Regions from separate parts of the Homo sapiens genome. Here region 1 is linked to region 2. Evidence: promoter capture Hi-C in human tissues and cell types (Jung and others, 2019). All regions are on one chromosome and are shown on one strand. Each heading gives the region's core, a stretch centred on a gene start or on the middle of the fragment in contact. The rest is flanking DNA. Distances are from core to core; before and after follow the strand shown. Region 1 overlaps DISP3 (dispatched RND transporter family member 3). Region 2 holds the start of FBXO2 (F-box protein 2).

Region 1 (3,022 bases), core at 142-2,641, 160 kb after region 2:
GTTTTGCCTTCCCTGGTTCAGCTCTGGTCCTTGAACATCTTGAGGTCTTTGATTCTCTTACCCTTGGGTCGAGAGTTTTGGGCAGAAGCTCAAAATGAGTTATTTTGAGTTGAACAGCTCCAGAGAAGGGAGGAAAGAAAAGAGGAGGCCTTGGTGCCTCCCAGGCATCACTGTCCTACGTCCTGATACTCCGTCTTCTGAGAATCCACCGCTCTCCGGATGTCCTGGCTATGTGCCAGTCATCAGAATCCCAAACCTTTCCCCGAGACCTGGACACTCCACCTAGGCCAGGAGGCTGGAGAGGCACTGGAGATGTGGTGGTGAAACGGGCAAAATCACACACATGGAGTGCAGTCAAAAGCCCAGCTAGTTCAGCCCAGCTAGTTCAATGCAGAAACTCTGACACCCATTAAGACCATCATAATAATTAACTCTGCATCTACCACGTGCCAGTACTCCTTATCCATCCTCTGTCATCCTCACATCAGCCCTGCAAGGACGCTAGGGAAGGCATTATGAGCATTCACTTTTTACAGAAGCAAAATCAGAATCAGAGAGGTTAAGTGACTCCCTGGTGGTCACACAGCTACTAAGGGGCAGAACTGGAGTTTGAACCCCAGGTCTATTGATCCTAAAGCCCAGGCTCTTTTGGCCATACCAGGTAGCCTATGAGCTCTTTGAGAGCTGATATGTCAGTACTTGTTGAAGAAACCCATTGCCTTTTAGCAAGTTTGCCCCATCCCCATAAGACCACAGATCACTCGGGGCCTGGCAATTCTGCTTTCAGCAGGTGGCAACTCAGGGCATGATGTAAAGGAAGTCTCCCACCAACCTCAGAAGCTTGGCTTTCCCTTCAATGGGTCATGGGTGTGATGGTTAATTCTATGTGTCAACTTGACTGGACTATGGGGTGCCCAGATATTTGGCCAAACATGATTCTGGGTGTGTGTGTGAGAGAGAGAGTGTGTTTCCAGATAAGATTTTTTTTTTTTTGAGATGGAGTCTTGCTCTGTTGCCCAGGCTTGAGTGTGGTGGCATGATCTCAGCTCACTGCAACCTCCACCTCTGAGGTTCAAATGATTCTCCTGTCTCAGCCTCCCAAGTAGCTGGGATTACAGGTGCATGCCACCATGCCTGGCTAATTTTTGTATTTTTAGTAGAGACGGGGTTTCGCCATGTTGGCCAGGCTGGTCTTGAACTCCTACCTCAAGTGATCCGCCCACCTCCGCCTCCCAAAGTGCTAGGATTACAGGAGTGAGCCACCAAGCCCAGCCTCCAGATAAGATCAGCATCAGTACACAGAGTAAAGCAGATGGTTCTCACTAATGAGGGTGGGCCTCAACGAATCAGTTGAAGATCTGAATAGAATGAAAAGGCTAAGAGGAAATTGTTTTTGTTGACTGCTAGAGCTTGGACATTGGTCTTTTCTGGCCTTTGGACTCAAGCTGAAATATCAGCTCTTCTTGGGTCTTCAGCCTGCCAGCTATCAGACTAGAACTTACACCATTGGCCCTCCTGGTTCTCAGGCCTTCAGTCTCAAACTGCAACTATACCATCAGCTCTCCTGGGTCTCCAGCTTGCTGCCTGCAGATCTTGGGGCTTCTCAGCCTCCATAATCACATAAGCCAATTCCTTCTAATAAATCTCTCTCTGATATATATATGCTATTGGTTATTTTCTTCTGGAGAACCCTAATACAATGGGGCCGTGAAGCATCCCAGAGAGAAAGTAGGAGTGAAGCAGGGAGCCCCATCCTAGCAGCTGGATCCTAGGGCCCTCCCAGAGTCTTCTCTGAAGATGTTCCAAGTCCTACCTAGAATCTCAAATGAACACGGCAACAGAGCCAGGGAATGCCTTCCAGATCCATAGAGGAAGGGGTATGGCTGAGTGACTTTCCACACTTGTCTGAGCTCTTTCCCCAGCAAGAAGATCCTGAATCTATCACCCCATATCTCCTGCCCCAGCCCCAGGGAAACCTGGCTTTGTGGCTGCAGCTGAAGCAAGCACCTACCTCTACTCCCCATCACCCCTGCTGCCCCCTAAGAAACACGATCTTTGTTGGCTCAATTTGCCAGCCGGAAATTCAGAGGGGGTACAAATGACCATTCCTCTCTGCAAAGAAAATCTGGGCTTATTATTAGAAGCCCAGGTGGGGGTGGGGAGAGGAATCGGGTGGGGGCTCTGTGGCGAGCCTGTCCAAGCCCCCCATTTCTCAGAGAAGGTCAGGCTGCACAGATGGAGTGGATGAAGGATGACTGGCCTCCTGGGGCTGACAGCTGGTGAGGAAACTATGGGCGCTGACTCGAAAAACCCAATGGCTCAATATTTATCAGGCAAACAAGCTTTGCCTGGGTCAATATATCACCTGAGGAAACGTCCCAGCCAACACCAGAGGGATCCAACGTTCATGGGCACAACAGCCACTATCACTTTTCCTGTTCTGGTGTCCCCTCTCTAGTGGGCTCAGTGGGACAGAACCCGACCCCCTAACACCAAGAGGGAAATCTGTAAAATGGGGATGGTGATACTGCTCCCCTGCTGAACCAGAGCAGCTAGTACGATTATTAACTTCTTTTTTTTTTTTTTTTTTTTTTTGAGACGGAGTCTCGCTCTGTCGCCCAGGCTGGAGTGCAGTGGCGGGATCTCGGCTCACTGCAAGCTCCGCCTCCCGGGTTCACGCCATTCTCCTGCCTCAGCCTCCCAAGTAGCTGGGACTACAGGCGCCCGCCACTACGCCCGGCTAATTTTTTGTATTTTTAGTAGAGACGGGGTTTCACCGTTTTAGCCGGGATGGTCTCGATCTCCTGACCTCGTGATCCGCCCGCCTCGGCCTCCCAAAGTGCTGGGATTACAGGCGTGAGCCACCGCGCCCGGCCAATTATTAACTTCTTAGCCAGCCAGAGCCCAGGACTGGCCCCTGCTGTAGGCAGGTCCCCAAGTCAACTGGAGCGGACTCCCTTATTCTCTGCCCCAAAGATCCTTGGACTTTTACGTGAATCGGAGTCACTAGGCATACTCGTTA
Region 2 (3,381 bases), core at 882-3,381:
AACCCAGGAGGTGGAGGTTGCAGTGAGCCGAGATCGCACCATTGCACTCCAGCTTGGGCAACAGAGCGAGACTCCATCTAAAAAAAAAAAAAAAATTAGCCAGGTGTGGTGGCACATGCCTGTAATCCCAGCTACTTGGGAGGCTGAACTTGGGAGGTGGAGGTTACAGTGAGCCAAGATTGTGTCACTGTACTCCAGCCTGGGTGACAGAGTGAAACTCCGTCTCAAAAAAAAAAAAAAAAAAAAAAGAGTATAGTAAGAATAAGAAACACCACTCTTGGCCTCAGTTTGCCCATCTGAAAAATGTGTGCACTAACAGTAGCTACCTCTTTGGGTTACTGTGAGAGAAGTAAAGGTGTTAAACCATCCAAAGTACCCGGCTCATACTAAGTGCTCAATACATGTTCCTGGTGTCATGACTGTGTACTGGAGGCATGCCAGACCCGGCCTGTACCCCACCTTCAGCGCACGGGTTGTGCAGGAGGTTCCTGTGCAGGCTCCGTAAGAAGTAGAAGATCTTCCAGTCGGCCACGGGCTGGTCCCAGTCCTCAGTGATGAAGCCCTCTCGCAGGCACTTGCGTTTCCAGAGGGTCACGAGGTCGATGAGGTCCCGCCAGAGGCTGCAGACCAGGCGGCAGTTCAGCAGCAGCTGGCGGGCGGGCACGTGCGTGAACAGCTCCAGCAGGATGTTCTCGGGCAGCTCGTTGATGTTCCCCACAGCCATGGCTTGTGGCTTCTGGACACCCTCCTGTAGCTGTTGAAAAGCTATGCTGCAGGCCTCATCCCTGCTCTGCCATTTATCTCGGGAGAGCATGGTGCCTCTCCCAGCCTGTTTCCTTCTCTGTAAATGGATGCCTTACCTCCAGGGGTCACTGGGGCGGTCCAAGGAGCTTGGGACACATCAGGTACTTTAATAAAAGGTGAGCTCTGATTTTTTTCTCTGGCCTCTCACAATAGAGGTGGAAGGCACTGCCCAAGGTCAAAAATAAGGGCAGAGGGGGAAGAAGCCCGGATCTTCTTTGATTCCAGGGCCAGCCTTTTTCAGTAGGCCAGTCTTTAATGGGGATATAATGCGCAGCCGGGCAGAGCACCCCAGGCCTCCGGTGCCGTCACCATCCTCTCTCCCATCCTCAGAACATGATGGGAGGAGGAGGCTAATTATCACTGCCTCCCGCGGAGGTCCAAAGGGCTCCAGCCACCTTCTCAAGATCTCAGAGGACATGATCTCCTGCCTAGGTGGGAGTGGCAAGAGGGTGGGCGACAGGGAAGGGCCCTTCCTATCTCCCCACCCCCACTCCCACCCCCAGCCCCGCGGCTGGGCTCCGCCAGCCCCAAGTCCGCCAGCGCGCCTGCAGCCTCCCCTTCCCACGCTGTGCCTTAAAATGCCCCCCAAAGTCTGGGCTCGGACCCCTGTACATCGATGGCGACCCCAGCCCCCGTTCGCAGCCGCGCAGCGCAGCCCGGGCAAGCTCGGCGGCCTGGGCCTGGTCGGTGCCAGGCCTCCCTCGGCAACTGCGGCGCGACCCGGAACCCAGGAGCCTTCCCGGCAGCCCCCGCCCAGCCGCGCCCCCTCCCCAGCGCCCCCCGCGCCCCCTCCTGCCGGTCACCTGCGCTCGGCCGCCGCGGCACGATCCGTTGGGCCGCCCAAGCTGCACCGCCTGGACCTGCGCTTGCCTGGAAAGCGAGGCCCCGCCCCGGCCCGCCAGGCCCCGCCCCCGCGCCCCGCGCCCCGCCCCGCGCAGCGCTGGGCCAGGGACGCACCCCCACCGCGTCGTAGGAAAATTACCTGGTGTGGGGGGTGGGGCGGAAGGCACCTCCTATACTCCGACTCCGCCTGGGCCACCCGCCCCTCACCCTCGGCCTGACCCAGCCTCTCCGTGCCTCCCCTAGCCGCCTCCTCCCAGCAGTCCCCCAGGAGCGAGCTGCGAGATGCCCCAAATCGGACCCCTCCCCAGTTGGAAAAAAAACGACTCCTGACCTTTCCCAGCCTCCTCGGTCCGCTGAGGAACCCGCAGCCCCGGGCCTCGAGCAGACTGCTGGGACTGCGGGGCGGCCGGGCGCGGGGCCAGAGGCGGGGCGGGGCGGGTCGGGTCGGGGGCCTTTAAGAGGCGCGGTCGCCGGGACCGACACAGACGCGGACAGCGCCGGGACTCGCCGCCCCGGGACTCGCGCAGCCCGCAGCGCTCCGGCTCCTCCTCTCGCGACCGCCCTCCGCAGCGATGGACGGAGACGGTGACCCAGGTAGCCGACGCCTGGACCGCTCGCTGCGGCGGGGAGGGGAGATGGGGTCGGCGGGCGAGCGCTGCACAGAGGGGCGTCAGAGAGCGAGGGGACCCGGAGACCTGGCGCGGCAAACTTTCACGCCAGCGAAGCCCTAGAGGCGGTCTCCAAAGAGCACGTCTCTCTGCTATCTTGGTCTGGCGGGAGGCCTTGAGAGGCGACTGGCAAGGAGAGAGAACTCCTGGGTCCCATTTAGCCAGGAAGTAGCACCAGAGGACCCCCACATTCCCGCCTCCCAGCTTCCTGAGGGTCTGTCTGGCGGGGGCCTGGGATGCGTCTGGGAGGGAGGCTGCGAGCCTTTTCTTTCATCAGCTCTTCCAGCTCTGGGCCTTGGGCCGTCTGAATCCCCGTGGGTTCCTTGGGGTCCCAGGCCTGGCCTCACCTATTCCTGCCTTCCTCCTGAGCTCCCTTGTCTGGAGGGGCTGCCCCTCCCCGGGGTGGTGAGATGCCCAGTGGGGACCCGACTAGCGGTGAGGGAGCGTTGGGGGCAGCTTTGGCTGGTGCTCAGGGCCTTCCCAGGCTGCCCAGTCATCCTCTCTGGCACCCAAGACCCCTCACCCCCATCCCTCCAACTCCCTGCGGGGCCTGCAGGGGTTGCCTGCTGAGTCAGGATGGAAACAAGACCTGCCTGCAGACAGCCCTCACTCTTTCCTCATCAGGTCCAGCTGGGGATGGGCATTGCTTGGGTTAGGCGGTGGCAAACAGACTGATGAAAGCTCAGGCCCCCCCTCACCCCCCATTCCCCCGCCTCCAGCCCTGAAAATTCCAGCTCTCGCAGCCCTTGCTCCCAATCCACGGCCTTCTGGCCACACCCTCTGTAGGGCTCCAGAACTGGCTCCTGCTTTTTCCCAGGGATCAGCTATACCCTGGACTCTGGGGCCCACTCCAGGTGAGTGAGTCAGCCTCGCAGGCAGGCAGCTTCCAGGGGCCAGATAACTTTCCGCCGGCAACAATGTGGGGAGTTGTGTGTGTAAGAGAGAGGGTGGGGGGAGCTGTAATTGGATCTGGGGCCTCGAGTGCCAGGCCCCGGGGCCAGAAGAGGGGACTGGGTGAGGTGCACCTTTCGGGGAGCATCAGGTGTCCGATGGGGCCAGGGCCGGA

Evidence for each region. Contacts are between HindIII fragments. The study calls those that stand out against the background at their distance.
Region 1: a contact is called between a fragment that was not itself captured here and the fragment with the promoter of FBXO2 in region 2, in 1 of the 25 tissues and cell types used here (H1 embryonic stem cells).

Annotation. Positions count from the first base shown.
Region 1 is chr1:11,491,695-11,494,716 of GRCh38, reverse strand. The region is part of intron 1 of DISP3 (dispatched RND transporter family member 3); the gene reads right to left. Among named protein-coding and RNA genes, the nearest start is that of DISP3, 14 kb to the right of the region's middle. The HindIII fragment of the contact is 6,238 bases long and covers 1-3,022 here.
Region 2 is chr1:11,653,179-11,656,559 of GRCh38, reverse strand. FBXO2 (F-box protein 2) reads left to right here and starts at 2,131. Exons shown (of 6, transcript NM_012168.6): 1 at 2,131-2,241. The coding sequence starts at 2,220. It overlaps FBXO44 (F-box protein 44), which reads right to left and starts at 1,683. Exons shown (of 6, transcript NM_033182.7): 1 at 1,608-1,683; 2 at 460-754. The coding sequence starts at 724. RefSeq lists silencers at 1,452-1,521, 1,572-1,801, 2,042-2,181. The HindIII fragment of the contact is 14,481 bases long and covers 1-3,381 here.